2 separate regions of the Homo sapiens genome follow, and region 1 is linked to region 2. Evidence: promoter capture Hi-C in human tissues and cell types (Jung and others, 2019). All regions are on one chromosome and are shown on one strand. The core of a region is centred on a gene start or on the middle of the fragment in contact, and the rest is flanking DNA. Distances in the headings are between cores, read along the strand shown.

What was found. Contacts are between HindIII fragments. The study calls those that stand out against the background at their distance.
Region 1: a contact is called between a fragment that was not itself captured here and the fragment with the promoter of SLC6A18 in region 2, in 2 of the 25 tissues and cell types used here (liver and thymus).

Annotation. Positions count from the first base shown.
Region 1 is chr5:1,316,289-1,321,831 of GRCh38, reverse strand. It overlaps CLPTM1L (CLPTM1 like), which reads left to right. Exons shown (of 17, transcript NM_030782.5): 14 at 13-68; 15 at 153-197; 16 at 1,101-1,216; 17 at 3,379-4,080. The coding sequence ends at 3,463. Among named protein-coding and RNA genes, the nearest start is that of MIR4457, 9.7 kb to the right of the region's middle. RefSeq lists a cis regulatory region at 1,811 and enhancers at 1,739-1,883, 5,087-5,236, 5,527-5,543. The HindIII fragment of the contact is 8,012 bases long and covers 1-5,256 here.
Region 2 is chr5:1,222,504-1,227,426 of GRCh38, reverse strand. It overlaps SLC6A18 (solute carrier family 6 member 18), which reads right to left and starts at 2,046. Exons shown (of 12, transcript NM_182632.3): 1 at 1,790-2,046. The coding sequence starts at 1,949. SLC6A19 (solute carrier family 6 member 19) reads right to left here. Exons shown (of 12, transcript NM_001003841.3): 12 at 2,316-4,923. RefSeq lists an enhancer at 1,110-1,652. The HindIII fragment of the contact is 11,488 bases long and covers 1-4,923 here.

The DNA.
Region 1 (5,543 bases), core at 1-2,500, 95 kb before region 2:
GTCTTTCTGCAGGGGTCTATGCCTTTGGTTTCCTCTTCATGCTGCCCCAGCTCTTTGTGAACTACAAGGTAAGGCGGTGTGTGCTGCCCGCGGCCCGGCCCCCGTCTCCTGTGCTGCCCACAGCTGACCTGGGCCTGTCTCTCCTGTTTCAGTTGAAGTCAGTGGCACATCTGCCCTGGAAGGCCTTCACCTACAAGGTGAGTGTGACAGCCGGTGAGGAATCCCTTCTCACTGAGCAGAGCGTGAGCAAGGGCGTCTTCCAGCCAACAGCATTACTGGGGCCATCTCTGCCCAGAGTGCATCTGCACCTGTCCCTTTCATTGAAGAATATTGAGGAGGCTCCTTTAAAAAAAAAAGCGAAGAGCTATAGAGTAACTTCAGACCCTGAAAGACTGGGGTGGTTCTCTCACTTGTCACAGATTTGGTTTTCTTTTTCTTTTTTAGTGTTTATGTTTCTTCTTAGCACATGTGTCAAGACACAGACCCCCTGTGGCTCAGTAACCGGTGCCTGGGGACAACGGATTCAGGCCTCCCAGGCAGGAATGGAAGCCCCCATGGGCCGTGGCCATTCCCCGCTGGCAGAGCTGTGGAGGCCCCCTTGGCTCCGTGTGGGATTAGAAGTGCCTCGGCATTGCAGGCGGAGCTGAGTTAATGGGACATGATTTGCACTTTTCTGAAGTCAATTACAAGCTCCCAGAGGAAAGGGCAATGCTCAGGTGGCTCTGCCCTTGGCTCTCCCCTTGGCTGTGGTCTCGGGCGGCTCTAACCTTGGCTCTGGTCTCAGGTGGCTCTGCCCTTGGCTCTGTCTCGGGCGGCTCCAGCCTTGGCTCTGGTTTCAGGCCATTCTCTTTGGGTTCCCCGATGTGGGAGCCTGGGCAAGACCCGCAGTGTGTCGGGTGCCAGCAGCTGTGGGGAGCCCATGAGGGAACAGAGCTCCGTATCTCCACTTGCCGGCTTTCTGCTCTTTTTGTTGTTGCTGTGAGGAGTTCCAGTTAGTTCCAAGCATCTGCCAAAAGCCGTTGGCTTGGTTAGGTTACCAAAAACAGTAGGATTCCAGCCCCAGCAACTGGGGTTCACCCTCCTCCCGTCTGGCCCTGCAGGCTTTCAACACCTTCATTGATGACGTCTTTGCCTTCATCATCACCATGCCCACGTCTCACCGGCTGGCCTGCTTCCGGGACGACGTGGTGTTTCTGGTCTACCTGTACCAGCGGTGGTGAGTGCGGCTGCGTATGCTCGGCCGTTGCTCCGTCTCAGCGGCGTGGCTGCTGCTGAACGGAATGACGGCTTTCACCGCACCCTGCGCCTGTTTATCCATTTGAGGGAAAAGATAATTTGCAGGTGGTGGTTTTTCCTGTCTTGCCTAAACTTGGGTTCCAGTTGCCCATGATATGTCCTGGCAAGAAACTGTTCCAGCTCTGTCTCCTCACTGTGCTTTAGAAATGCTCGTTTCTATGTGAATTATTGATGAGCCACTGAAAGCAAATGTCTCTCCTTAAGCGATTTATTTACCTATTCACAGTCATTGCTATTGAGCAGAACAGAGACCGTAGCATGGCTAATCCATACTTGGCGCTAGCCTCGAAGTGTCCAGCCAGCAGTGTGGACCTGCAGGGCACAATGTCACTGGGGAGCTCACTCACCTCAGCATTGGCCGCACCCCTTAAACCAGCCACCAGGGCCTCTGAAGACTGCATTGCGTGGACCTCTCAGCTTGGCCTTCAGGTTGAAGGCTGACGGCTGAGGAAAAGGCTTTGTGGAATTTTCTAAAGGCAGAGGTTCAGGCCCCACCCCGGGCCTCGGAATTTTCCAAATGCAGAGGCTCAGGCCCCACCCTGGGCCTCCCGCTTCCCTCCAGGGCTGACATCTGCCCTCTCAGTCAGCAAAACCTCCCTCCAGCTCTGCTGTGCCAGGGTAGGAGCCAGGGATCTGGGGCTCCCCTCGGGAGGGTTGCATCTGGACCACTGCAAGCACTGCCCTCACCTCCAGTGCCGGCCCCAGGGCCTTGTCCAGGGGTCGAAGGAGTGTGTGTCACCCCCAAGACCTGCTGCCAAGTGTCTCAGAGCCTCCTGGCTGTGTCCTTTCTCTGGCCCTCAAGGTCCCTTTTCCCATCTCCCTCCCCCGACCAGGAGGCCACCTCACACACCACGGCTGTGACACTTCCCTGTGCCCTTCCCTCAGGGCCTGGGGCCATCCTACTAGTGCAGGAGAGGGATCCTCTTCCCCCAGGCCGTCCTGGCGGGTCCTGCCTAGGTCCGGGGTGCCGGCCCTTGGGGAGCGCAGTGCTCCCGTCCCCGCCCTGTCTCCACACTCAACCTCGCCAGGTGTTCAGAGCCTCTGTCCCAGCCAGCATGAGGCTGGCATGGTTCTGCCTGGTTTAACTCTTTGTTCGGGTGCAGTTGGCACATCCACACAGTGGCTCATGGCCGCCCTTGCCCAGCTCTCCAGGCCTGGCCGCCGGCTGCCCCCCCCCACCCTGTTGCTGTCTCGTGCAGCCCCTGCACGGGAGCTCCAGCTTGTGTCAGCGGGAAGGGCTATTTCACCATAAGCAACACTCACACTCACACGGGGCTTGGTTCCTGTCCCCCGTTCACCATTCTCAGATCCCCCAGCTGGCCGCCTGCCCCCTGCAGAGCCTGAGGTTGTCCAAGCCACGGAGCCCCGGACGCTGCTGCGCCTGGTGTGGTTGTCTCAACTGTGAGCCCTTCAAGTGGCTCCCAAGTCCTCGCAGGTGGCCCGGGGCGTGCCTGAAACTGTGCTGTACTCAGGCTCTGTGTTAATGGCTCCAGACCTGCAAACGGTGTTTGGCCAGGATCACAGGGCCCTTGGTGGGCAGCAGGTCTGTTTTTAAGCTGAAACCCTGTACTTCTGTTCGCGGCCGTGTAGAGCTGCCCCTTATGCCACAGCTTCCTCATCCATACGTAGGGGTGATGTTGGCAAGGCCTCCGGGGCGCTCAGGATCAAAGGCGGCGGCAGTGTCCTGCCAAGTGTTCACAGCTGATGAGACGTGGTCCCTGAACACAGCGGTTCCTGTTCTGATCACTCGAGTCTCCGTGATGCCACCGTTCCCAGAAGGCAGCCCGTGCAGCCTCCGGGTCCCCCCTTCAGCCATGGCAGCCCGTGCAGCCTCCGGGTCGTCCCTTCGGCCAAGCTTCCCTTTCCTTGAGAGCAGCACGCTGGCCTGGCCATGCAGAACAAAACACAACTCAGAAATCCCTCCTCAGCCCTCGGCAGTAAAACTTCTGAGGATTCGACTTTTTAGTTAATTTGCTCACTGTGGCAGCTCACTGGAAAATAAATCGAGGATGCCAAGTCCTCCTCTTAGAAAAATAGCCCCTGCAGTGGGGTTTGCTGATGTGCTCATTTGTGTCATTGCAGGCTTTATCCTGTGGATAAACGCAGAGTGAACGAGTTTGGGGAGTCCTACGAGGAGAAGGCCACGCGGGCGCCCCACACGGACTGAAGGCCGCCCGGGCTGCCGCCAGCCAAGTGCAACTTGAATTGTCAATGAGTATTTTTGGAAGCATTTGGAGGAATTCCTAGACATTGCGTTTTCTGTGTTGCCAAAATCCCTTCGGACATTTCTCAGACATCTCCCAAGTTCCCATCACGTCAGATTTGGAGCTGGTAGCGCTTACGATGCCCCCACGTGTGAACATCTGTCTTGGTCACAGAGCTGGGTGCTGCCGGTCACCTTGAGCTGTGGTGGCTCCCGGCACACGAGTGTCCGGGGTTCGGCCATGTCCTCACGCGGGCAGGGGTGGGAGCCCTCACAGGCAAGGGGGCTGTTGGATTTCCATTTCAGGTGGTTTTCTAAGTGCTCCTTATGTGAATTTCAAACACGTATGGAATTCATTCCGCATGGACTCTGGGATCAAAGGCTCTTTCCTCTTTTGTTTGAGAGTTGGTTGTTTTAAAGCTTAATGTATGTTTCTATTTTAAAATAAATTTTTCTGGCTGTGGCATTTTTCTTGACCTGGTATAATGAAAGTATTTCGGATATTTGAGTTTAACCCTTTTCCAGAAAGTAATACATGATATGGATTTATTTATGCATTAAAAGAGCAAATTTAAAGAGCCCTTTGCAAGCCTTTGAGTCATGAGTGTTCTTAGATACGTAGCATCTTAGTTGTTTAAGACTAAACTATTGTACAGAGCCATGACCCATCAGGTCAAGCTTATCTTGCCCTAGGTTGAGGCAGAGAGAGAGAAATGGAATAGAAAGATGGGTGGAGAACTGCTGGACTCGGTGTGTAGTGAAGTTTAATGTTTGTTGAAGTTAGTTTTTGTGGGGTTTGTTGTTCTCAGCTCACAGCAGCCTCCACCTCCCATGTTCACACAATCTTCTTGCCTCAGCCTCCTGAGTAGCTGCGACTACAAGTGTGCACCACCACATCCAGCTTTTTTGTATTAATATTTTTAGTAGAGATGTGGTTTTGCCATGTTGTCCAGGCTGGTCTCGAACTCCTGATCTCAAGTGATCACCCGCCTTGGCCTTTTGAAGTGCTGGGAGTACAGGCATGAGCCACCACACCTGGCCTCTAAATATATAATCTTTTTTTATTCCTGGTCATTTCCTTGCTCTAAGTCTCCTTTGCCAATAACAGCTTTCATCCTCTTGTGTTTCTGGAACAGGCTCCCCTCTCATGGGCCTGGCTTCCTTGCAGCTGAGGGGCTTTGGGAGCCCTGCTCAGAGCCCCAAGCCTGCAGGCCTGTTCCATGTGTCTCCACGTAAATGGACGAGACACACCATTCCAGGATGCTCATTCAGGCTGAGAACCAAATCCAGATGCTCTCAGTCCATTCGCAGATGACAGTGAAGTTTCTGTACACTCTGCTTTCTTCTGGATCAGATAAATCTTTTATAATTAAGGTGTTGTAAACTTCACTCGATTTGAGAGGAATGCACTGGGGCTTCAAGTTGTCATCTTTCAGTTTTATTCATTAAAATACGAAGATACCAGATGAGTTGGCACAGGAAAACAAATACGAATACACGGCCTGTACTGTGTTACTTAGTCGTGTGTTGTAAGTGGGGTCTGGAAGGGTGGCTGGGAGAGCGGGTGAACTGCCGGTTCCAGATGGGACGCACAGCACCTTAAGGGGCCTGGGGGGGCACACGGGAGGCGGCTCCAGAGGCAGGGCAGATAGTGGGGGCCCGCAGGCAAGTCAGCAGTGGGGGAAAGACAGCAGAAGGCGTGAGGGTCTTCATTGGTGTATGTGAAGGTCACGAGGTCACACGGCCCTGCCCATCACAGGTGCGTCGGTCTGCGGGGAAGTTGAGGCATCAGGGAACAGGAAGTTTTAAACGTTTACAATGGATCTTACCCACACAGGCCGTGCCTTTGCCTGCGGTGTCAGATTACTAGGGCGGGGTGCGGTGGAGGGTGTCCCTTCCACACCTGTGGTTTTATTTGTCTTTGGGGGAGGGGAGCCTTGCTTTATAAAACACAACTGGCTGTGTTCTGTAAGGCTTCACCCAGCACATCCTGTTGGCAGCAGCTAAGCACACAAACGGGAAAGGAGTATCGCCCAACTCCACC
Region 2 (4,923 bases), core at 797-3,296:
TTTCATGACATGCAACCCGGTGGCTTGCATCAGGAGATTGATGGTAGAGTCGTTCATGAGTGGAGCAGCCCTGAAGTCCCCGCGCAGCTGGCGGGCAGGGCTGTTCTCCCTCCTCAGCAGCACCCCAGGTGGGGGCCTCCCCAGCTTTGCCCCAGCGTGGAGCAGCTGAGTTTAAGGGAGGCTAGTGCCAGACACTTCCAGTACACTGCAGGCGCTTAGCAATGGTAACTGGGTTTCGGTGGGCAAGGCATCGGCGGGCAAGGCATCGGCGGGCAAGTCATCGGCGGGCAAGGCATCGACGGGCAAGGCGTCGGCGGGCAAGGCGTCGGCGGGCAAGGCGTCGGCGGGCAAGGGGTCGGCGGGCAAGGTGTCGGCGGGCAAGGCGTCGGCGGGCAAGGCGTTGGGCGCGTCGGCGGGCAAGGCATCGGTGGGCAAGGCATCGGTGGGCAAGGCGTCGGTGGGCAAGGCGTTGGGCAAGGCATCAGCAGGAAAGGCATCGGTGGGCAAGGCATTGGCGAACAAGGCGTTGGTGGGTAAAGCGTTGGCCGGCATTTCCAGCTCTGCGTGAAGCCTGCTGCCCCCACAACCTTGCATGCTCTGGTGACTCTTAGCAGATCGAGCCGCAGCACAGGCAGCGAGGGCCCCGGGAGCCAGGGACGCCTCTGCCCTTGGGCTTTGGTGCTTTCAGAAATGCCTTCAAAGGGACTCTCATGATGAGAAGATCCAAGGCCCAATGCACCCTCTCCAGCCCCAAAGCCCCAAAGAGACCCCAGTGCCCCGAGGGTGGCAGTGACGGGTGTTTCTTTTTGTTTTTTCCATTTGTGCGCATTTCCTGCATTTTCTGCCTGTTGAGAATCTTTTCTTAAGCAGGAGGAAAAACACTTTAAAGGAGTAACCTTATAACAAGGGATAGTTGTGCGGGGCTCTCAGGGAAGGAGCTGAGGGCCCGGGGAACAGGCTGACCAAGCAGCCCGGCCTGGCCTGAGGAGGACCCTGCGGCCTGGGAAGCCCCTGCCCGTGTTGCCTGGGGAAGACCTGGGTGTCCATGCGTGATGTTGTACGTCGGCTCCCTGAGAGCAGTGATTCATGCCTGTCCCTACATCCTGTGTCGCCACATGGAGAGCAGAGTGTGACCCCTGCATGAAGAGAAGCAGGCACAGGGTGAGGGGAGGCTCGAGGTGCGTGGGAGCCTATTTCAGTCACCAATGCACTTCTGGGGGTGGTGAGTCCAAGGTCACTAAAGTCACCCAGACAGTTCTGAACATCCTGGCACCCCCCACAGGGCTCTCCCAGAGAACCAAAGCCAGGGAGGCGAGGGGTGGGCCCCCAAATTCCTGCAAAGAACCTCGGAGAAGGGCACCTGAGCACATGTCTGGACACACCAAGGCTGTGGTGAGGAAACCCAGAGCGGATTGTGTGTTCTTTAAAGAACTGACGACATTCAGATGGAAGAGCGCTCACTGTTTGTAGGGTGTGTGTGTCGGGCAGGGCGGCCCATTCAACCTGACGCCTGGCAGGAAGCTGCCCTGAGGTCCCGGAAGACCATAGTGGACCCCGAGGGGACTGGATCCTCCGTGCTGTGGGCAGTGGTGAAGCTGCCCTGAGGTCCCAGAAGACTGCAGGTGGGCCCTGAGGGGACTGACTCTGCCGTGGGCAATGGTGCACCCTGGTTTCCAGGAGGAGTGACTCTGCCCAAGCACTGGGGATGCGTGGCAGGCGCCTGGCAGGTCAGGGTGGAGACGGCCTCCCCTGCTTAGGGGTCTGCCCCAGGACGCAGGTGGGTGCTTACCTCCTCCATAGGTCTGGCACAGGTATGGGAACCGCCAAATGTTCCCCAGTCCCACGGCAAACCCAGTGCAGCTCAGGAGGTACTGGGCCTTGTTGTCCCACTTGGGCCTCTCATCCCCGAGGTCGCAGGCGGCCGGGTCCGGTTCTGGGGCATGAGCCATGGTGACTGAGTGCCCCAGGCTTCAGGGCAAGGGTGGTGCCTCACTCCACACCCAGCACTAGAGAGCCGTCTCCAGCCTCTGCCGACGTTTGGAAACCACAAGCAGCCCCACTGCAGTTGTATTTATTCATTTCTTTAAAGGAAAACCAGTGGAGTGCCGTTAATGGGTAACTCAGGTCCAGGCCCTGGCTCTGACGCCAGGGTCCTTCCCTGGCACCCACGTCCTCTGCTCCTTCTCGCATGCTCTGTGTTCCAGGCAAACGCCGGGCCTGGCACCACCCCCAGCACCATGAGGACCGTTTGCAAGGACAGCCTCAAGTTTTTTTGTTGCAGACACCAGGATTCCCAAGACTGAGGCATATTTTAATCGTTTTAAATTTCTTATGTTTTATTTAACCATTTGATCTTGAGATACTTATAGATTGTCACTCTGTCACTGTCAGAAACAACTCAGATCAGATCGCATGCACCCGAAGCCCGGATTCCCGCAGGGATCCTCTCAGCTGCTCTTGGGAGGCCGGGGGCTGCCCTCACACCCACTGCTGCCCTCGGGCCGCTGGGCAGGACAGGGTGACAGGCACCCACCGTGCGTGGGGGCAGAGGGCTGAGTCCTCTCCTGTGCTGGGGGCACCCCTGTCCATGGGTGGAGGGTTGATGAGTTGACGCCGGGTGAGTTCAGCTCTAAGGAGCTCCCCACAGTGCTCCCTGGACTCTGGGGCTCCTCCTTGCAGATGCTCCCGCCACGGACAGGCCAAGGGCCCCCAGGCCCGCAATTGCCCCATTCCACTGGACACTGCACCCCTCAACCGTGTGGCCACAACTCCAAATCCATGAGTCCCAGGGCAGGGGCCCAGGTGGACACATTTTTGGAAGGTTCTTATTTGAGTGAGAGGAAGTGTGAGGGAAGAAGATGAGAAGAGCTGGTTGGTCCCCATTGTGAGGCCACAGGCCTGGGCCATGGCCTCTTCGGAGCAAGCCCCCAAAGCCAGACCCCCCAGGAGGAGGCAGGAGCTGGACCTGCCGTCCCCACCATCCCGTCTGAGGTCACTGGCTCACTCATCCCTCTACGTCTGGACAACAGTAACTTCTAGGGTGAGCATACTCAATAGAAGGGATTTATTTAGAAATGTACACTTTATGCCCATAAAGCCTGCATTTCTACCACATTTACAGAGACATTGAAACCTATGAAACAACGCATGAATCAGGAGATGTAGATGAGATGGGAGCTCCCGCCCAGGGTCCTATGGCAGGCACACCAGGGTACACCAATGGATGCCAGGGCACATCAGTGCACACCTGTGCATGCCAGGGTACACCAATGCACACCTGTGCACGCCTGGCAGGGCCTCCTGGGCAGATGCCACAGGGCAGCATATTAATGGGGCACTGATGGAAATTTTCTCGATCCAGGGCCAAAGAGCAGGAAAAGATGAGGTGAGACCCTGTTGAAGCCATCAGCAGGCGAGCCCCTCGGTGGCATCACAGCCGGGGGCAGAGGCTGTGATATGTCCCCCCACCTCTGCTGCTGTGGAGTCTTGCGCATCCCAGGGCCCAGTGACAGTCAGCAGGGTGAAAGGGGCTGGTAGGGGACTCAGTGTGTGCAGTCACTGCTGGATGGGGTGCTGGAAGGGACGATTGTGACCAGGTTTCTGTGGGTGGAACATCATACTGGCACACACCAGGCTTTCAGTCCTGCCTGTAGGAATTCTCAGAACATCAGTTTAATGTAAGCGTCCAGATTCTTCTATGGAAAGCAGAGGTGACCTGTCCGTAGGAACTCTCAGAACACCAGTTTAATGTAAGCATCCAGATTCTTCCATGCAAAGCGGAGGTGACCTGTCCGTAGGAACTCTCAGAACACCAGTTTAATGTAAGCATCCAGATTCTTCCGTGCAAAGCGGAGGTGACCTGTCCGTGGAAGCAGATGTCCCAAGTGCCGACTGCCTTTGGCTGCGATGGAATGTTGAACCCCAATGGGGGCCCATCCCGTGACGGGGGCAGGGCAGGCGCCAGGCTGGGCTTCACTGAGTGGTGCGGGAGCTGGAAGCTTCTGGGGGCTGCACGGTCCTCCAAGGTGCCCTGGACACACACAGTGCCCAAGGATGGCAGCCAGGGTTGAGTTACCCTGTAACCCATCTTTTCCAAAGGCTGGCTAAAAATTCACACAGCTCATGTCCTCTTAAGAAAATGCACAGAGTGGTATTTGCCTTGAATTATGCCAAGTTGAGTTTTATTTAACTGCTCATCTATTTGTGGTGGCAGGAGCAATGATTAAATGGCTGGCATTCATTAAGCCGGGAAGCGGCCAGAACGCAGAGACTCGGCAGCGGCCGACTGGAGGCAGGGCCCCGGTGGATGCGGCCAAGTTTTCTCAGAATCGCCAGCAACTGCCCACTCCGGCTTCCGAGAGGCTGCTCCGGGTCGAGGGCTACAGGGCTCTGGGAACCCCCAGGTCAAAGGTCAACACCAAGGGGAAGGGGATGGGTGGGGGTGGGTAGCAAGAGTCGCTCCCAGGAGCCAAGATAGTACCCTGTGCTTTTGTCTCCTGCCACCCACAGAGATGAAGCATAGAGGTGCTGCCCCCACCCCAGCTGCAGCTTCCGCTTCCCCCGGGCACGTGCAGGGCACAGCACGTCCCCAGTGGTCTGCTCCCCTCTGCACATGCACCCCGTGACTGTGGCAAGGACAAACACAGAGGGCAGCTGGGCCCCGAGTGGCAGGCATGTGTCCCAGCGACGTGTACGCACACATATCCACACGTGTCCATATGTGTGTCCATATGTGTCCATATGCGTGTCCATGCGTGTCCATATGCGCACATACATACACACTGGCATGCACAAATGCACACCTGCCTGAATATGCACACACACGAGCACACATCACACACATATACACAAACAGGTACAGACACACACATATACACAACACACGTATACACACACGTACACATGCTCACATATACACACGTC